Linked DNA regions of Homo sapiens: regions 1, 2, 3, 4, 5 and 6 are each linked to region 7. Evidence: promoter capture Hi-C in 16 types of primary human blood cells and fetal thymus (Javierre and others, 2016). All regions are on one chromosome and are shown on one strand. The core of a region is centred on a gene start or on the middle of the fragment in contact, and the rest is flanking DNA. Distances in the headings are between cores, read along the strand shown.

The links. The method cuts DNA at HindIII sites, captures the fragments that hold promoters and counts their contacts. A CHiCAGO score of 5 or more calls a contact.
Region 1: a fragment that was not itself captured here is called in contact with the fragment with the promoter of MINDY3 in region 7 in 1 of 17 cell types (activated CD4 T cells); the score reaches 7.7 in activated CD4 T cells.
Region 2: a contact is called between a fragment that was not itself captured here and the fragment with the promoter of MINDY3 in region 7, in 1 of 17 cell types (endothelial precursors). The highest score is 5.1, in endothelial precursors.
Region 3: a contact is called between the fragment with the promoter of TRDMT1 here and the fragment with the promoter of MINDY3 in region 7, in 7 of 17 cell types (total B cells, non-activated CD4 T cells, naive CD8 T cells and 4 more). The highest score is 11.3, in total B cells.
Region 4: a contact is called between a fragment that was not itself captured here and the fragment with the promoter of MINDY3 in region 7, in 1 of 17 cell types (activated CD4 T cells). The highest score is 5.1, in activated CD4 T cells.
Region 5: a fragment that was not itself captured here is called in contact with the fragment with the promoter of MINDY3 in region 7 in 4 of 17 cell types (total B cells, naive CD8 T cells, naive CD4 T cells and 1 more); the score reaches 6.6 in total B cells.
Region 6: a fragment that was not itself captured here is called in contact with the fragment with the promoter of MINDY3 in region 7 in 4 of 17 cell types (naive CD8 T cells, endothelial precursors, total CD4 T cells and 1 more); the score reaches 6.8 in naive CD8 T cells.

What each region holds. Positions count from the first base shown.
Region 1 is chr10:17,421,179-17,424,299 of GRCh38, forward strand. All of the region lies in intron 2 of ST8SIA6 (ST8 alpha-N-acetyl-neuraminide alpha-2,8-sialyltransferase 6), which reads right to left. Among named protein-coding and RNA genes, the nearest start is that of ST8SIA6, 32 kb to the right of the region's middle. The HindIII fragment of the contact is 1,001 bases long and covers 1,050-2,050 here.
Region 2 is chr10:17,280,755-17,283,514 of GRCh38, forward strand. No RefSeq gene overlaps it. Among named protein-coding and RNA genes, the nearest start is that of VIM-AS1, 52 kb to the left of the region's middle. The HindIII fragment of the contact is 5,419 bases long and covers 1-2,760 here.
Region 3 is chr10:17,200,104-17,202,927 of GRCh38, forward strand. It overlaps TRDMT1 (tRNA aspartic acid methyltransferase 1), which reads right to left and starts at 1,569. Exons shown (of 11, transcript NM_004412.7): 1 at 1,468-1,569. The coding sequence starts at 1,531. RefSeq lists a silencer at 1,207-1,266. The HindIII fragment of the contact is 5,194 bases long and covers 958-2,824 here.
Region 4 is chr10:17,619,162-17,622,173 of GRCh38, forward strand. No RefSeq gene overlaps it. Among named protein-coding and RNA genes, the nearest start is that of HACD1, 3.3 kb to the left of the region's middle. The HindIII fragment of the contact is 1,019 bases long and covers 885-1,903 here.
Region 5 is chr10:17,237,058-17,240,148 of GRCh38, forward strand. It overlaps VIM (vimentin), which reads left to right. Exons shown (of 10, transcript NM_003380.5): 10 at 173-536. The coding sequence ends at 214. Among named protein-coding and RNA genes, the nearest start is that of VIM-AS1, 8.6 kb to the left of the region's middle. RefSeq lists a silencer at 1,713-2,007. The HindIII fragment of the contact is 3,798 bases long and covers 1-3,091 here.
Region 6 is chr10:17,262,773-17,265,472 of GRCh38, forward strand. No RefSeq gene overlaps it. Among named protein-coding and RNA genes, the nearest start is that of VIM-AS1, 34 kb to the left of the region's middle. The HindIII fragment of the contact is 2,364 bases long and covers 92-2,455 here.
Region 7 is chr10:15,859,205-15,862,133 of GRCh38, forward strand. It overlaps MINDY3 (MINDY lysine 48 deubiquitinase 3), which reads right to left and starts at 1,303. Exons shown (of 15, transcript NM_024948.4): 1 at 1,002-1,303. The coding sequence starts at 1,095. RefSeq lists an enhancer at 1,045-1,094. The HindIII fragment of the contact is 10,196 bases long and covers 1-2,929 here.

The DNA.
Region 1 (3,121 bases), core at 300-2,799, 1.6 Mb after region 7:
CCCCTTACCTGGGGTAGAACACAACTGGGAAAGGCCATGCCAGCCTCAAGCCCCCTGTGGAACTGGCTGAGTCCTCTGTTGCAACTGCATTAGGATCTATCTGTCTTCTCCTGCTGCTTAGTCCTGTTTCCCTCATGGGCATTGTTCCTGAGAGCACTTCCTAATAAGTGTCCTATATACAAATCTGTATCCCAGAGTGTGTTGCCCAGGAAATCCAATTTACAGCAGTCCGTAATACAAAAGAAATTGTATAGTATGTAGTTTAATTGACCTGTGCTTCTAACAGGCATGCAAAAAAATTGTGTGTATAAATTGCCCAATTAACTAGCCCTGAATGAGTGAGATCTTAGAATTAAAAGGATTCATACAAATTAGAACAAGTCTTAAACTTAATTTTTTTTTAAGACTGGGTCTTGCTTTGTTGCTCAGGCTAGAGTGTAGTGGTGTAATCACAGCTCACTGCTGCCTCAACCTCCTGGGATCAAGGGATCCTCCTGCCTCAGCCTCCCCACTAGCTGGGACTACAGGAGTGTGTCACCGTGCCCTTCTAATTTAAAAAAAAAATTGTTGTAGAGATGGGGTTTTAGTATGGTATCCAGGCTGGTCTCAAACTCCTGAGCTCCAGTCATCCTCCCTCTTTGGCTTCACAAAGTACTGGGATAATAGGCAGGTGCCACTGTGCCCGGCCTTCAATTTTATTTCCTTTTGATGACGATATTTTCCATGGGTACGCAGCCATCAAAGTATAAAGGAAACAAGTAGAGAAGAATAAAGATTCTGCAAGTGTTTGCTTTATACAGCCCTTTTCAGAATTTATTATAGACTATACTATAGATTTTATTTATTATAATATAGAATTTATAATTTCATACATAAAGATAACTTCAATCCTAAATCTGCATCAATAAAGGAGAACACCTAACAATGATCTCTTTCACTTTTAATCAAGAGAACAATCTTTAAGCCAATAGAAACAGTCTTTAATCACGCTAAAAGAGAAAAAAACTGAATATTGAAGAGCAAAATAAATTTAAAAATCTTTAGGGAAAAGCTTACATTTGAAAGAGTCAACTGTTCTAAAACGTTTGTGAAATACCATTTTCAATGTCCAAAATAATGAATTTATTCCCTGGTCCACATTTTTGCCTGAAGCACCTCCCCCCTCCCACAAGTAATTAAGAGTTATTTTATGGGACAAGAGTTAGCCAGTCAGATCCAATTACTGTGAATCAGAAAGACAAAATTTATATATCCTTTTCTGTCCTCCCATAATTCTGATCTTCTCTTTACCAAATGTTAGCCAACAGCTACTTTAATCATAAGCCTGATAATGTACTACTTCATGGCAAATAGACCTTAATAATTCTACTCCTCTCTCGCTGCCAATCCTGTACTGAACAGTGAGAATACATTGACATTGTCAAGGTTCAAGACACATTGATTAATCAGGTAATACACATTCTAAACACTTAGTGAAACGGACTGTAAAAAAACTATTTTACTGACTCTGAGGGGCAACAATTTGTCTTCTTCTACTTTAATGACGATGCTGTGTCTATGTCTTTACAGTCAATGGTACTTAAAATTACCTGGAATGACTGGGTTTCACTGATTGAGTATCACTTAAAAGCCAACTGAATTTTGCTAAAATTTCCAAAATTAAACAAGAAATACTGAACAATTTTCAGCATGCTAAGAGATAGAGAAGCGAATGATAGAAAGGATAGAAATTATTGAACAATACGTTCTAGATAGGATGATGCACAAGGCTAATTTCACTTTGAATACAGCCAAGTGGAAAATGATGAAAATCCCGTTCAATGTAACAGAAAATAAATGTGCATGGGTGCAATTTTAATAGAATAGTACTGCCATTCATTTGGCTGCACCGGAGCCAAGGAGACACTCAGGGAGTGCTTGGTAACAAAAAATATGGACCTGATAAATTATGCAGCCAAATTAGCAAGTAATTAGACAGAAGCATTGAAACTGCACCAGAAACAGCAGCTATCCCAGAAATTCCAAACACGTACTAAAACAAATAAGTGGAAGCTTGTGAAATTCACTATATTTACAATTGCGCACTTCTGTTCTCGAAATCCTAATAATTAATTTCCTTGGGGGAAACTTCTGGAATCCCCCAGAGTTGGTTTCCTTGTCATCTGTTTTCGTAGCATCTTATTTTCATTTCCTGCACATAACTTAATATTCCTGGGATTCAGTAATTTGTGTTTCCCTCCTCCAACTAGCTCCATGAGTCTAGAGACCTCATGTCTGTTTGGTTCTTTGCATGCCTAGCACAGTGTGGGTTTACATTACAGGTGCTCCAAATATACTTTTTAATAAATTAATAATCTTCTCACACACTAGCAGTTCTCTTCACTTTCCAGGCTTTTCTGGGTTGTTACTTGCATTGTCTCTAGATGCTCTTCCTTTCTCTTCCACTACCACTCTGATGAGAATACAATAGCAGACAGCATCCCTAGAACAACACGACATCTACAGAAAAGGGGCATGCCCCTCCCACCCCTTTGTACTCTGCACACCAAAATAGATCACTTGTTCCAGTGCAGTCAGGCATCCCTGATGGGCCCCAAAATACATAGGCAATAATCTCACAGGAATCTTACATCTCTGTCTGAAATCATCTTCAGAACCACACAATATATATCTTACTAGGTGCTCTGTAGATAACTAAAGTGATGCAGAAACCACACATGTTCATCCAGTACCTACCACGTGACAGTTATTGCAAAATTATCCCACATCAAGGACAGACAGATAGCAAATCTCCCTTGAATCCTTCTGTCCAGCTATGGTCATGCTCACACTTTCTAACTTTCTGCCTGCAGCAACATTCTCTCCATCACCCCACCTGATGCCTTAACTGCCTTACCTTTGACCTCTATAACATTATTTCCAAATTCTTTTTTTTTTTTTTTTGAGATGGAGTCTCATTCTGTTGCCCAGGCTGGAGTGCAGTGGTGCAATCTCAGCTCACTGCAGCCTCCTCCTCCCAGGTTCAAGCAATTCTCGTGCTTCAGCTTCCTGAGTAGCTGGAATTACAGGTGCACACCACCATGCCCAGCTAATTTTTGTATATTTAGTAGGACTGAGGTTT
Region 2 (2,760 bases), core at 188-2,687, 1.4 Mb after region 7:
TAAAAAATATGTATGGTATCTCTGTTAGCCCATTTTCACATTGCTGTAAAAAAAACTCTCTGAGACTGGGTAATTTATAAAAAAAGAGGTTTAGCTGACTCACAGTTCCATATTGCTGGGGAGGCCTCAGGAAACACAATCATGGTGGAAGGTGAAGGGGAAGAAAGGCACTTCTTACATGGTAGGAAGAGAGAGAGACTGAGGGGGGAAGTGCCACACTTTTAAACCATCAGATCTCGTGAGAACACCTCACTATCACAAGAACAGCACGGGAGAAATCTGCCACCATGATTCAATCACCTCCACCAGGCCCCTCCCCTGACATGTGGGGATTACAATTCAACATGAGATTTGGGTGGGGATGAAGAGCCAAACAATATCAATATCTATGCATCATTCTATATGTGTATGGATATAAAGAAATATATGAAAAGCAGGTCTCCAAAATTAAATAGTGTCATGTGACAAGATATCAGAGATGGTTTTGCCTCTCTGTTTCACATATTTTTGAGTCTTAATTTTAATTAATGTGTGTTTGTATTAGTCAGGGTTCTCCAAGGAACAGAACCAATGGCAGAGAGAGAGAGAGAATAGATGATTTGATAAACAGAGAGATAAATAGATGATTTAATAGATAGTTAGAGAGATAGGAAGATAGAGGATAGACATAGATATAGATAGATGTTTAGATAGATAAATACATAGGAAGATAAATAGATGATAGATAGGGAGATAGAGAGGAAGACTGATAAATCATAGATGATTTGATGGATGATAGATATATGGATAGGAAGACAGATAGTCATATGGTTAGGCTGTATCCCCACTCAAAATCTCATCTTGAATTGTAATCCCCATGTGTCAAGGATGGACCAAGTGGACGTAATTGGATCATAGAGGTGGTTTCCCCCATGCTGTTCTTGTGATAATGAGTGAGTCTCATATGATCTGATGGTTTTATCAGCATCTGGCATTTCCCCTGCTTGTTCTCATTCCGTCCTGCTGCCCTGTGAAGGTGTCTGCTTCTCCTTTGCCTTCTGCCATGATTGTAAGTCTCCGGAGACCTCCCCAGCCATAATAAACTGTGAATCGATTAAACCTCTTTCCTTTATAAATTACCCATTTCTTCATAGCAGTGTAAATTGGTACCGGAAGTGGAGTGCTGCTAGAAAGCTACCTGAAAATGTGGAATAACTTTGGAAATGGGGTAACAGGCAGAGATTGGAACAATTTGGAGGGCTCAGAAGAAGAAAGGAAGATGTGGGAAAGTTTGGAACTTCCTAAAGACTTGTTAAATGGTTTTGACCAAAATGCTGATAGTGATGTGAACAATGAAGTCCAGGCTGAGGTGGTCTCAGATGAAGATGAGGAACTTGTTGGGAACTGGAATAAAGGTGACCCTCGCTATGCTTTAGCAAAGAGACTGGCAGCATTTTGCCCCTGCACTAGAGATCTGTGGAACTTTGAACTTGACAGAGATGACTTAGGGTATCTGACAGAAGAAATTCTTAAACAGCAAAGCATTCAAGAGGTGACAGAACATAAAAGTTTGGAAAATTTGCAGCCTGACAATACAAGAGAAAAGAAAAATCTATTTTCTGGGGAGAAATTCAAGCCAGCTGCAGAAATTTGCATAAGTAACGAGGGGCCAAATGTTAATCACCAAGCCAATGGGGGAGATGTCTCCAGGGCATAACAGATAACTTCATGGCAGCCCTACCCCCATGACAGGCCCAGAGGCCTAGGAGGAAAAAATGGTTTTGTGGGGCAGGTCCAGCGCCCTGCGGCTGTTTGCAGCCTTGGGACTTGGTGCCCTGCATCCTAGCTGTGCCAGCTCCAGCTGTGGCTAAAAGGGGTTAAAGTACAGCTTGGGCTGTTGCTTCAGAGGTTGTGAGCCCCAAATCTTGGCAGCTCCCATGTGGTATTCAGCCTGTGGGTGCACAGAAGTCAAGAATTGAAATTTGGGAACCTCTGCCTAGATTTCAGAGGATGTATGGAACCTCCTGGATGTCCAGGCAAAAATTTGCTGCAGGGTCGGAGCCTTCATGGAGAAACTCTGCTAGGGCAGTGCAGAAGGGAAATGTGGGATTTTTGCCCCCACCGAGTCCCCACTGGGCCACCACCTAGTGGAGCTGTGAGAAGAGAGCCACTGTCCTCCAGACTCCAGAATGGTAGATCCACTGACAGCTTGCAGCATGCACCTAGAAGCCACAGACACTCAATGCCACCTGTGGAAGCAGCTGAGGTGGGGGACGATACCCTACAAAGCCACAGAAGCAAAGCTGCCCGAGGCCATAGGAGCTCACCTCTTGCATCAGCATGACCTGGATGTGAGACATGGAATCAAAGGAAATCATTTTGGAGCTTTAAGATTTAATGATTTCCTTGATGGATTTCAAACTTGCATGGGGCATGTAGCCCTTTTGTTTTGGCCAATTTCTCCCATTTGGAACAGGAGAATTTACCCAAGTCTTGTGCTCCCATCATATCTAGGAAGTAACTAACTTTCTTTTGATTTTACAGGCCCGTAGATGGAAAGGACTTACCTTGTCTCAGATGAGACTTTGGACTTGGACTTTCGGGTTAATGCTGGAAAGAGTTAAGATTTCGGGGGACTGTTGAAAAGGTATGATTGCATTTTGAAATATGAGGACATGAGATTTGGGAGGGGCCAGAGGCAGAATGATATGGTTTGACTGTGCCCCCCACCCAAAATCTCATCTTGAATTATAATCCACATATGTCAAGAGCAAAACCTGG
Region 3 (2,824 bases), core at 319-2,818, 1.3 Mb after region 7:
GTCTTACTGTTGAATTAATTCCAACAGTTAGTAAACATGCTTAAAGAGAAAATCGGCATTATGCTCAAGAATGTAACTGTAGCACACTGTACTTGCAAAAAAACTGAAGAATGATCTAAATATTCGACACTTAAGGAATGGCTGAATTACAGCTTATGATAAAGTACTAAGCAATTCATTAAGGAGTTTCAAGATATGGGAAAACGCGGACATTATATCACTTTAGAGAATTAACAAAGAGTAAATAGTACTAGAGTTTTGCTTTGATGCTGCTAAGTTTTAAAATGAGAAATAAAGATAGCCGGCAAACAAGTACTAAAAACTTAATGATCATTAACCTAGTCTAGAATTGAAACTCAATAAATCTGCTCAAAAAACTTATACGCTAAACCCATTAAATATTGTCTGTATCTTACAGTTACTCTTGTTACTCTTGGTCCTAAATAAGGAAGCAGGGAAGTTTCAGTTCGGTGGTTGTCTTAGTAATTTAAGAATAAACATGCACCTTCAAAGCCTGTTTGTCATTCTGTATCCCCAGCTCCTAGCACAAAATCTGGCACAGAATAGGAGCTCAATAAATAATTTTGAGTGAATATCACCAAAAGTAAAACTTTCAGTTCCAACTCAGCATGAAAGAAATCAAAAACCTCAAAATCAAAGACGTGCATAAAAGTAATAGTTTGCTTGATAATATCTCGTGATGTCGTTTTAAAGTAATAGTGATAATAATGTATAATATTTGGAGTGGTTACAATGTATCAGGCACTAACAAGCACTTGACAGACTTTAATCCTTATAATAATCATTCTCTTTTAAAACCAGGAAACAGGTTCATCACTGTTCACGAAGTAGCCCAACGTCACACTGCCACCAAGCTGGAACTCAGTTCTCTGGCATCTAAACGCAGAACTACAGAAGACACGTTTCTTTCCAACGATCAGACGTCCAAGTTCTTCAAGCTTCCTCTACCATCCTATTTAGCATTCGCAAACTTCTACCTTGAATTGTAGCTATTATCCCTTCCAAGATCCATCTCTCACCAGGGGAGCCCCTGACACTCCCTCCCTCCCCAGCTGGGAAGCCCCCCAGGATGAAGGACCGAGTCTCCATGCTTCTCGGTGGCTGCACACTTAGAATGGGGGCTTGGCACCAGGCGAGGGTCTCGCCCCTTTGATACCCTTTGAGGTTGATTTACTGCCTTGCGAATCCCGACTCCCAACTGGGCCCTTTGAGGCGCCATGTGCGGCCCCTCGAGCCAGACTCGGCGCCAGGAGAAGGGAGTCAGCGTCTGGAGGGGTGGACACGGCGGCGCGCAGGAGCTGTTTCCAGGACAACCGAGGGCCGCCCCACAGTGTCCGCCCCACAGTGTCCGCCCCTTGCGTCTCGCCGCTCCGCCCCTTCCCGGCGCGGGTGCTCCAACCAGCCCCCGTGAGCGAATAGAGAGAGGGGTGCTAGATGGACTCTCACCTCTCAGCGCGTGGTGCATGCCGCCCACGCCGCTGTATAGCTCCAGCACCCGCAGGGGCTCCATCCCCGCGCCTCAGCCGCCGCAGCCCCGGAGCTAGGCCTGCCGGTCCGTCGCTCCTCCTCCCTCCATCGCGCCGCTCCCTCAGCCTCTGGTTCCGCGGCGTTTCAGTTCCCCCGTCTCCTACCGCTCCAGGCTCAGGGCTTCAGAGGGCCTCGCGGCCTGGGGATTGGCAAGGGTCTAGAGGGGAACAAAGGACGGAAAACAATAAGGCTTCCCGAATGAATGGCAGCCACTCTGTAGCCTGATTTACGCTCCATTTCCTTCTTTGGTGTCAGGGGCCTTGATTGGAAAAGAAATCCAGAGTTCAGTAAAGGGGAGAAAACTGCCTTGGTTTCCAAGTGAATTAACACTGGTTAGAAGCCAGAAAAAAATCATTTTTCAGACAAGCTGCTTTTCTGTCACTTAGAAGCCTGAACATTCAAACATTCTTTCCACAGTGTGCCTTGTTTCCTGCCTGCCCTGGGTCAATAGAGAGAAATTAGACCAGCCTCTCCCCTAGAGAAGATTCCAGAATTATAAGTAAGGACACAAGTCCACTCGCAGCAGAGAAAGCCCTGTGTGCGTGCTGATAATACAGAGGATGTTTGTTGTGTCTATTAGTGGGGTTAATTATGTTTTAGCTTGGAAATTACACCTACATAGAATACACAGTGAATATCATGTAGGATTATTTATGGGTCTTTAAGTGCTATGGCCTTGATTCCTCAGGATGATCCAGTAACCAACTGTTAGAGGCTCATGTTGACGAAAAAAGCCAAACTCCGTAAAATGTTTGAAGAGGTTTATTCTGAGCACAAGGTGAGGACCGTGACCCATGACACAACCCCACAGGGTCCTGACAACATGTACCCAAGGTGGTTGGGCTACAGCTTGGGATTATATGGTTTTAGGGAGACATAAGGACATTAACTGGTATATGGAAGGTGTACTTAGTTTGGTCCATAAAGATGGGACAACTCAAAAAGGGGAAGGATTCCAGGTTACAGGTGGATTCAAAGATTTTCTGATTGGCAGTTGGTTGAAAGAGTTAAGTTGTGACCTAAAGACCTGGAATCAATAGAAAGGAATGTGTCTGGGTTAAGATAAGGTGGAGACCAAGGTTCTTATTATGTAGACGAAGTCTCATACGTAACAGGCTTCAGAGAGAATAATTGGCAAATGTCTCTTATCATGTGTAAAAAGATGCCAGACTCTTAGTTAAATATCTCTTGGATCAGGAAAAGACCTGGAAAGGGAAAGGGAGTCTCTATAGAATGTAGATTTTCCCCACAAGAGATGGCTGTGTAGGGCCATTTC
Region 4 (3,012 bases), core at 144-2,643, 1.8 Mb after region 7:
AACCTCCTGGAACTACAAGATCAACATAACAAAAATCAATTGTTTTTCTACATGTGTACACGGAACAACTGGAAAATGAAATTTAAAATAAACCATACAACGTTAATCAGCATCCAAAAACATGAACTATATAGGCATAAATTTCACAAAATATGTGTGAGACGTATACACTGAAAATTATAAATCATTGCTCAAAACTATAAATCTCTGCTGAGAGAAATGAAAGATCTAAATAAATAGCTGTTGCCTGTTCATGAATTGGAAGACTCCATACTGTTAAATGTCAATTCTCTCCAAATCCCAGCAGATTTTTTTTTAACTTGACAAGCTAACTATAAAATTCATGCAGAGGTACATAGGAAGAAGAAAGTTGGAGCACATATACATCTGGTTTAAAGACTTACTATAAAACTAGTTTTCAACACACTGTGGTACACATAAGGTGAGACATAGAAATCAGTGAAACAGAATCAAGTCCAGGGATAGACCCATATGTATGTGGTCAATTGATTTTTATAAGAAGCTAAGGTAATTTCCATGTGGAAAATATAATCTTTTCAGTAAATGAAATGACTGGATACCCATATCAAAAAATAAATCTTACCTCACACCATAGATAAATATTAAGTTGAAATGAATGACAGACCTAATCATGAAGCTATAATTACATAATTTCTAAGAAAATACAGAACAATCTTTGTGACTTTGGGGAAGGTGAAGATTTTGGAGGTAGAAAAAAGCACTAATCATAAAAAGGAAATAAAAGACAGATTGAACTTCATCAAAATGGGAAACATCTGTGTTTTCAAGACAACATTAAAAAAGTGAAAATATTCACGACAGATGTCTCTAACAAGGAATTTGTATCTGGAACATATAATGAAAGCTTACAACTTAATAAAACAATTCAATTTTTTGAAATGAGCAAAAGATTTGAATACACACTTCACAAAGATATAGAAATGGCCAATAGCCGGCCAGGCACTGTGGCTCACGCCTGTAATCTCAGCATTTGGGGAGGCTAAGGCAGGCGGATCACCTGAGGTCAGGAGTTTGAGACCACCTTGGTCAACATGGCAAAACTCCGTCTCTACTAAAAATACAAAAATTAGCTGGGCGTAGTGGCACGCCCCTGTAATCCCAGCTACTTGGGAGTCTGAGGCAGGAGAATCACTTGAACCTGGGAGGCGGAGGTTGCAGTGAGCCGAGATGGCACCACTGCACTCCAGCCTGGGCTACAAGAGCAAAACTCCATCTCAAAAAAAAAAAGTAAAAAAGAAATGCCCAATAGCACATGCAAAAGTGCTGAATCTTATTAGTCATTTGGGAAATGCAAATTAAACCCACAATGAGATAGCACCACACAACCACTCAAGTGGCTAATATTTTAAAATGTTAGCAGGGATTGGCATTCTCATACAAGGCTAAAAAGAATACTGCTTTGGAATATAATTTGGCAATTTCTTACATCAATATACACTTACTTAGCATATGATCCAGTAATTTCACTCTTGGTATTTAACCAAGAGAAATAAAAACATATGTCTACACTAAGTCTTGAAACCAAATGTTCATAGCAGCTTTAGTAATAGTAATTCAAACTGAAAATAACTCATGTGTCCATCAATGTGTGAATGAATAAACAAATTGTAGTGTATTCATACAATGGAATATTACTCAGCAATAAAAAGGAACATACTATTGTACATGGCACATGAATGAATCTCATTAACTTTGTGCTGAGCAAAAGAAGCCAGACACAAAATATTATATAGTATATGATTACTTTTATATAAAACTCTAGAAAAGCAAAATCTAATCTAAACGGACAGAAAACAAAAAAGGTTGTTTCCTGAAGTTGGGGATTCCTGTAGGGAGACTAGACTAAGAATAAATACAGGAAAGCTTTTGTAGTAGTGTGAATGTTCACCATGTTGATTGTGGTGGTTACACAGCTCTACATATTTGTTGCAACTCATCATACCGGCCGGGTACAGTGGTTCATGCCTGTAATACCAGCACTTTGGGAGGCTGAGGTGGGCAGATCATCTGAAGTCAAGAGTTCGAGACCAGCATGGCAAACATGGTGAAACACCGTCTCTACTAAAAATACAAAAATTAGCCAGGCGTGGTGGTGCACGCCTGTAGTCCCAGCTATTCGGGAGGCTGAGGGATGAGAATCGCTTGAACCTGCAGGCAGAGGTTGCAGTGAGCCGAGATCATGCCGCTGAACTCTGGTCTGGGCAACAGAGACTCGTCTCAAAAAAAAAAAAAATCTCATCATACTGAACACATAAGATAGATTCATTTCGTTGAGTATAAATTATTAAAATTGATTTATAAATGCCATGAACACTACATATTTTAACGTGTAGAATTTATAATACTGATATGTTTAACATGAAACCCAAATGTTGTGGCAGAATGCCTTCGTATTTTGCAGTTAATAGTTTCCCTACCAAATATTCCTTTAAAGCATCGAATCTGCCACAAGATAGAACTCATTTTCACAACAGTAATGCATGTTACAAAGTTCAATGTAATAACATTTTGAAAAATAAACTTTTAAATGCCCTAAGAATAAATAATATTTCAACAGATTTATAAAATCGTCCCTATAAAATGTGAATTTACCATGTACTATGTAGAAATAGGTGATACCAAAATGAGTGAAACATGGAGCCTGTTTTCATGAAGCTAACAATTGTTATAAAATGGATAAGAATTTCATACAAATTAATATATTCTAAGATATGTTATTAACATGCCACCTCTCATGTGCCAGACACTTCAGCTGATTTAATCCACACAATCTTTTCAGGTATTACTATCCACATTTTACAAATGAGCTCATTGAAGCCTGGAGAAGTTAAGAAACTTGCCCAAGCTTCTCAGCCAATGGGCGGTGATTTTGAAGGACCACTGACTCCAAAGCCCGTGTTCTATTATGAATTGCAGAATATAATAAATTTGGAAAGAGGATTACAAAGTGCTTTGGGAGCTAAAGAGCTG
Region 5 (3,091 bases), core at 237-2,736, 1.4 Mb after region 7:
GGTCTTGTGTGTCTGCCCCTTCTAGTTTTCACTCATGCAGAAGCAACATAACCTTCTGATTTGCACAATAAATTACATATATTTAGCAGGATTTTTATTTGCCGTGATATATAGGATAATTTAGTCTTTGGCATGTGGCATTATATTTATTTTGGTTTTTTTTTTTAAACAGGTTATCAACGAAACTTCTCAGCATCACGATGACCTTGAATAAAAATTGCACACACTCAGTGCAGCAATATATTACCAGCAAGAATAAAAAAGAAATCCATATCTTAAAGAAACAGCTTTCAAGTGCCTTTCTGCAGTTTTTCAGGAGCGCAAGATAGATTTGGAATAGGAATAAGCTCTAGTTCTTAACAACCGACACTCCTACAAGATTTAGAAAAAAGTTTACAACATAATCTAGTTTACAGAAAAATCTTGTGCTAGAATACTTTTTAAAAGGTATTTTGAATACCATTAAAACTGCTTTTTTTTTTCCAGCAAGTATCCAACCAACTTGGTTCTGCTTCAATAAATCTTTGGAAAAACTCTTTTGTTGTGTTATTTATTGGATAATATCTAAACAATTCTCTACTTGGTCCTATTAGTTAATTTGTCATTACAATCATGTAAGTTGATAAATTCAGGTTATTTATGCTTGAGATGTAGTTCTTAATTTTGTCATTTTTGATAGACCTCACTTCTTTTTATTATTACTTAAAAACATTTACAAATAGGTGGTGTCGAATAAAATAACTTGTACCAAAATGAAGATAGGTCTCTCTAAAATGAGCTCAGGTCTGTGATTTTAATCATAACAAACAGACTTCCTAAAATTAAAAAATAAAAACTTTTTTTAGTACATATAGCATATGAGTAACACAAATTCCACTTTGGGAGTTAAAGCATAGGAAGTTGCCAAGATATAGGGGCTTATCTTCCGCTAGCAAGATGCAGAGAAATGGAAAAAGTTCACCAAGTTTTTCTTTTATTTAAGACAGGATCTCACTTTGTCACTCAAGCTGGAGTAAAGTGACTCAATCATAGTTCACTGCAGCCAACAACTCCTAGGCTCAGGCAATCCTCCCACCTCAGCCTCCTCAGTAGCTAGGAGTACTCAAAACAAATAAACGAATGTCTAACTTTAGCCTAAAATGTGAGTTGTCTTCCCAAAACTAGCCACACACCTGGCTAATTTTTTTAATTTTTTGTAGAGATGGGGTCTGGAAGTGTTGTCCAGCCTAGTCTGGAACTCTTGTGCTCAAGTGATCCTCCCTCGGCCTCCTAAAAAGCTGGGATTACAGGCATGAGCCACCACACTCAGCCTAGTTCACCAAGATTTAATATATGAAACCGTTCTGCTTTATTGTGTGTGTGTGTGATAGCTATATCTATATCCATCTATCTATAGATACAGATATTTGTAAAGACCTTTGTGTTTGGAGAATGGCATTAGGCACAAAATAAAACCTCCTACCTTTTCTTCCAGGGAGATGAGATTATTACATGTGAATCGCATGGTGCTAACTGTAGGTGTAATAAGGTTTCAAAGTCTGGAGCAATAAAAATGAAGTGGGGCAGTCATGGAAAGCTCCCTAGAAAGCACTCAGTGTGAGCATAGAACTTACATAAATAGACGAGAGAAGGTATTGCCAAGAGGCAATAGTGTAGTAATGGTCAATAATGTGTGTTCTGGAGTGAAAACTTCGAGTACATTCTCGGACATCTCTAAGTTTCAAATTATGGAAATATTATTATCTTCTCTCCTCCGAGAATGATGTGGTAGACATTGTCATAATTTTTCTGTGTTTGCATCTGCCTCTCTCTGGAGTTAACTAGTGAGATGGTTCTCACAAAGCCCTGCCCATTTGCAGGAATGTTCACTGTGATTTTCATCATTTTGGTTACCGTGGGTACTGCATGAATAAAGAAAGGATTGGGGCTGGATGCAGTGGCTCATGCCTGTAATATCAGCACTTTGGGAGGCTGAGGCGGGTGGATCACTTGAAGTCAGGAGTTCCGGACTAGCCTGGCCAACACGGCGAAATCCTGTCTCCACAAAAAATACAAAAATTAGCCAGCCGTGGTGGTGGATGCCTATAACCCCAGCTACTCTGGAGGCAGAGGCAGTAGAATTGCTTCAGCTTGGAAGGTAGAGGTTTCAGTGAGCCAAGACTGTACCACTAAACTCCAGCCTGAGTGACAGAGCGAGATCCTGTCTTAGAAATAAAGAAAAAAAGGATTGGCTGCTGAAGTAACTCCTAGCCATTCTAAAGGTAAATTCTAAATGTAAAAGTAAACTTTACATTCTAGTTTACTTGGGACATTCTTGGTTTATGACTGTTGTGTAAGCATAATTATTAATAATAACAGTTTGGACAATAGATTGTATGTGGTCAGGTCATGCTACCCTTAGAATAATCTTACAGAAAATGTGTCTGTCCCCTCAGCCCCCATATTCAAACAACTGACATGGACAATGGCATAATTAATTTTATTAGTGTAAACATCCAGGTCTTTGGGCCCTTATGAAACCTTTTCTATTTGATTTTTCGTTTTGCTTTCTGTTCTTTAGCCATTCTCACCACTGTTCCCCGCAGCCTCCTAACCCTAGGATCCCTGTCTCCTCTTCCACTTGTATCCCACCTTTGGCTTATAAGGGTCATCCAGGGAAGACCCCAGCCCCATATTGGCTTTCTTCACACACCAGACTCATTATTATTTTTTTAAAAATTGAAAAACAAGCCACAGTTTTCTTTCAGGGGAAAAGAACCAGGACAGCAAGTTCTGCTCATACCTATTGAGATTAGTAGACTCCCACTCTTAAAAATCCTTTACAGATGGAGGCCAGGCATGGTGACCAAGGTGGGTGGATCCCCTGAGGTCAGGAGTCCAAGACCAGCCTGGCCAATAAGGCGAAACCCCGTCTCTACTAAAGACACAAAAACTAGCCAGGGGTGGTGGTGCACACCTGTAATCTCAACTACTCGGGAGGCTGAGGCACGAGAATTGCTTGAACCCAGGAGATGGAGGTTGCAGTGAGCCGAGATTGTGCCACTGCACTCCAGCCTGGGCAACAGAGTGAGACTCTGTCTCAGAAAAAGAA
Region 6 (2,700 bases), core at 24-2,523, 1.4 Mb after region 7:
GGAACAAGCATTCTGTTTCTGAATAAACATTTTACTTATAACAAGAGATAAGATTAAATATAAGAATATATTATATTCTCTATTTTAGATAAGCTTGTCCTTGAATGTTGAGCATATAATGTCATCCAAAGCATCGTCCAACAGCAACACTATTCTCCTGTTAGTACCCTATTCTCCCTTTTAGGAAATCTCCCATAGTGTGGAAGTCTTTCTACTGAAATCTAAGTAACAGACAATTCCTCTTTCTACCACAAAGCAGTCAGGGATGGAGGACTCTTTCCTTGGACTTCAAATCTTCAGTGAGTGTTAGGAAGGTAGAGAGATGTCTGAGGTTCATGTTCACGGCCACATGGTTGATGATTTATGGACTAGACACAGCGTGCTCTTTTGTGTGATTCCAGCTCTCTAGCTTCCCCAGACTTCTTGGCTGTTTTTTCCAAGCCTGGTCGTCCATCTGCCATCTCATTCCAATAAATTGGAAATGCAGTTCAAGATAGCTAGAGTTGGAGTCTGTGGTATTGGGGGAACCCGCCCCCAATATTTCAATGTAGGTTCTTTCTATTTTCCCTAAGTGTCGGCGGGTCTGAGAAATAAAGAGAAAGAGCACAAAGAGAGGAATTTTACAGCTGGGCCGCTGTGGGTGACATCACGTATCAGTAGGACTGTAATGCCCACCTGAGCCTGAAAGCCAGCAAGTTTTATTAGGGATTTTAAAAGGGGAGGGGGTGCAAGAACAGGGAGTAGGTCACAAGATCACATGCTTCAAAGGGCAAAAAGGAGAACAAAGATCACATGCTTCTGAGGAAACAGGGTAAGGACAAAATCAGGAACTCCTGAGAAGGGTCTATGTTTAGCTGTGCACGTATTGTCTTGATAAACATCTCAAACAACAGAAAACAGGGTTCGAGAGCAGAGATCTAGTCTGATCTTAAATTTACCAGGGTGGGGTTTCCCAATCCCAGTAAGCCTGAGGGTACTGCAGGAGACCAGGGCATATATCAGTCCTTATCTCAACCGCATAGGACAGACACTCCCAGAGTGACCGTTTATAGACCTCCCCCCAGGAATGCAATTCTTTTCCTACGGTCTTAATGTTAATATTCCTTGCTAGGAAAAGAATTTAGCGATATCTCTTCTACTTGCACGTCCATTTGTAGGCTCTCTGCAAGAAGAAAAATATGGTTTTTTTTGCCCGACCCCACAGGCAGTCAGACCATATGGTTGTCTTCCCTTGTTCCCTAAAATCGCTGTTATTCTGTTTGTTTTCAAGGTGCACTGATTTCACATTGTTCAAACACATGTTTTACGATCAACTTTTACAGTTAACACAATGATCACAGTGGACCTGTGGTGACGTACATCCTCAACTTACGAAGATAACAGGATTAAGACATTAAAGTAAGACAGTCGTAAGAAATTTTAAGAATATTATTAGGGAAGTGATAAATGTCCCTGAAATCTTCACAATTTATGCTCCTCTGCCATGGCTCCAGCCGGTCCTTCCATTCGGGATCCCTGACTTCCCATAACATCTGGCTTGCCACTAAGACCCTGATGAACCAAGCCTGCATTTTTTTTTTTTTTTTTTTTTTTTTTTTTTTTTTTTTTTTTTGCTAAAGCTACTGCCAACCTTCTTGTGATGATCTGAGGGAATACAATTTAAACCATGATTCATAATTGTGCGAGGTACATGAGTCACCAAGAAAGGCAGGGTAAGTAATTACAAAGTAGTTATCTCTCTTTCCATAATTTTAAATTGAATATCACTTTATTCTCCATTTACAGACAGAGAGATTACAGGCAGTAATCTTCCTTTCTAAAGCTGACAGTAACTCCCACAGTAATAAATGGAAGCCTGTTTAATAAGAAATATTTACGTGTGTGACTGTGAGCACAGCTGAAAACGTGGTGTTCTTCGTAAATTTAGAACTGCATTTTCTAAATGTCGAGTGTTTATTACCTGGAAAAAAGAAAGGAAAAACAACTCTACATTTTAGACGTGTTCCACAGCTTCCTTGATGAGACATTTTAAGGACCATTAGTTGTCTAAATAGAGATTGTATTTTAGAGTGGAGACTATGAAAGAGTGTTCTCTAGTTTAAGGTTATATCCTTTACCTTGTGATAGAGTCAAGCTGTAAACTCAAAGCAAGCATCTGGCACTCTGGTTATTCTAAGTCATCTTTCTTTGCTCTCCCTTTTAAGCATCTTTCTTCACTTTAAAAACAAACACAAATAAAAGCACCTATCACAGGGAGGGCCTCAAACGAGGGCTTAATAGGTGTTGCTTTGCTTCCTCTTCTCTTTTCTTTAGTAGGCAGACTAAATTCTATGACTCTGATCTGAGGGTTAACAGTAGTCCATCTATGGATTCTATGGACTTGATGTATCTTATACTGTGGTTCCTGGAAATTCATTTTATCAGGAGTGAGTGATCTTTTCAGAAAAGCTGCTCAAGCTTGAGCCTGGGAGGTGGAGGTTGCAGTGAGCTGAGATCATGCCACTGCGTTCCAGCCTGGACAACAGAGTAAGACCCCATCTCAAAAGAAAAAAAAATCTGCTCCAGATTTTCAGAAAGGAAAATAAGATTTTACACACACACACACACACGGTTTTTGTGTCTGGTAAACTAGCAAACTGTCTCATCTGATTTCTTTGCCATCATTTCTGCTTTAAATTAGAACTCTAGAGAATGTAAATA
Region 7 (2,929 bases), core at 53-2,552:
AAATCCTGAATTTTTGTTACAAAATACACGTTTTGAAATAGGGGTTTATATTTACTATGCCAAAATTCCGCCCAATCTATTTCGGGAACAGGTGTTCCCTAAATAGATGTTTTAATAATAATAGTGTTTTACATACATAAATTATTGATCCTTCTGACTCAAGGTTATGTTTTAACCTCATCATCATCTTTCCTAAGTCACCTTTAGGAATGTGTCAGTTGTTTGCCTATCCAAACTTAAGAATTAGGGATAGTTACTAGTATAAAGCGCCCAGCCTGTTACAGTGCAAGAATTCAATAAATGCTTATTTTATTTCATTATTATTTGTACTAAGACTCTTCATGTAAGTAAAAGTCCTGTCTGGGTTACAAGCATACCGGCCGAGGAAGTACTATGATCCATATTCCTTTTTTAACCGTGACAGATAATAAACCATATAAAAAACGGGGATACTTTGGGCCAAGAGTACACTTTTTAGCAAATAACAGTGTTTATACACAGACTACCACGCCTAACCACATAATGACAATACAAACAAAAAACTGCTTTTTGGAATTAGCCACTTGGACTTTCCCTTGGACGTCCCTCCTTCTCACCAAAAATAGACCAACCACCACCAATAGACAGCTCTGTTAGGGGGTAAAGATGCGGAAGGCCACAGCACCCCTTGAGAAAGTGACACCGGGGCACGGGGCGCATCTTCCGTGTCACGCCCTGCAACCCAGCAAGGGGCCACCCTCTCCTCCTCCCCAGCCGAAGGGCAGCCCGGAGGATGGAAAGAGCGCTGCGGGTATTTAGTGGCAGCTGTAACCATTCTCCTACTCAAACTCTCCCCACCAAGGCAAGGCAGGGCGTGTCTAGAAAGTCCAGCTTCAGCGCTGAGCACGGCGACTGGGGCAGAGAGCGGGGCACGCGAGGGGCTGGAGCGAGAGGCGTCACAGGCGGACTCTCGCAGGGCAAAAGAAGCAGCGGCTGCAAGTGTGAGAGCCCCGCCAGGGTACCTTGCGTCCAGCGGCAGAAAATGGTGTCCGAGAGACCGGGGCTGCTCTTGGTGCCCCACACCAGCTCCATCAGCTCTTTAGTCAGTTCGGACATGATGAGGAACCGGCGGGCGGATCTTCGCTTTGCGGACTCCTGCCCCGGAACATGGGGAAGGGGCAACTCCGGAAACAGCAGCTGCGGGACGGCGGCGGCAAACGAATTGGAAGGTGAGGCAGGAAAGAAGAAGGGGCTGAGAGCCACTTGCAGAGACCAAGCCTGTCAAGCCAGGTTGGGGCAGCAGCGAGTTTTCCGTACCGGAAGTGCTGGTGCCACTTCCGACTCCTCTTTAACTCCCGCCCCTTAAGGCTGAGGGCCCGGAAGTCCCCTCCCCGGAAGTGAAATTGGAGGCGGAAACAGGCACGGAAAGCGGTGGAAGTAGCTTCTGACCTTTCTGAACTGTCTGGGACCCTTTGGTGGGGTGGTAGTTTTTGTATTGGGAAGGGGCGTCGGCGTGTTTCTAAACTCCAGGAATACCTTCTTCCTCTACGCACTGCTCTGGGCTAAGCTGGAGGCTCTGAGGCCCAGGCACTAGGAATTAGAACATATGCCCATTGCTTGTATTTTTCAATATTAATTTTGCAAAACTAGAACTATAAGGCAATAGTTGAGTCACAGTGCGGTAACATCCGTGCCTTTGTAGGGCGCTTCTCATAAGCTGGAGGCTGTCCGCCTCTGTACTTCAATAAATCAAAGTCAGACCAACTATTACCTAAAAACATGGCAAAGAATGTGGCATAATGTGCATTAGAAATGCTTCCACCAGCTGCAACGCAGAATTACAAGGTATTTGTAGGGAAACAAATTCAGAGCAACCTGTTTGTAAATGTTACAGCATTTTCATCTCCAGTTTTTGACACTGCAGAGTGTGTGGGCAACACCTGGACTAAAGTTTAGGTTTTACTCATTAACTAGCAGTTAAATTGAGTTCATGTGAAAACTTATGTTTGTGCTGCTTAAAAAAAGAGGGCTTGTATTGCCCGAGCTTTGAATTTAAAACGAAAGGGCAAAATCTGATTTAAAAAAAAATACATGCTTTTATTTTGGTTCTGTAAGGTTTCTGTACTCCTTGGAAACCATATTACTTTGGGATGCAGTAATGCAATAGTTAAGAGGCCAAGCTGTGGGTCATACTGGCCCATATTCCTACCTTTTGCACTTACTAGCAAGTTACCTACTATCTACCTAGGCTTTTTTCTTTCTAAAAGGGAGATTGCATACATTTCATATATTGTAAGGAATAAATGGAAAAAGTAACACATACAAAGGATTTGGTGTACTTCCTAGCACATGGAAGGCATTTATGCAACAGTGGGTATTTTTTTTACCTCAAGAAGCCATTTTGTGGGAATTTGATGCAACAGTAGTTCTGACTTTTTTACCCATAAATTCTAGCCAGTTGTATTTTAGTATAATACGTTATGTTCTCTAATTTCAAAAACATGCAGTTTCATTGTAGAATACCCTTGCATTTGGCTAATTAAAATTAACCCTTAATTTAAAATCTTTTAGATTGCAAATAAGGTTTTGTTAATTTATGCTTTATTACTAGCTATTTTTTCCTATTTATACGTTATTTCTAATTTTATTTTAATTAATTTAATTTTATTTCTTCAGTACCCTTTACTGTAATTACAGGGACTTGCCCAAAGTGCCTGTAGTAGAGCCATAGCATTCCTTTTGATCTTTATTCCCTTTAGAATATCCCTTGCCTTGTTTTTGCAAATCAAATCTTACCTATCCTTCATGTCAGAGTGTGCATGCCAAACTTTCTCCAGTCATTACAATTGAAAGTAATAATTATAATTTCTGAGGCTTCATAGTACCTTATGTGTAACTTGCTTATGACAATTCCTATCATCATTGTATTTGCAAAGAGTTATTTGCTTTT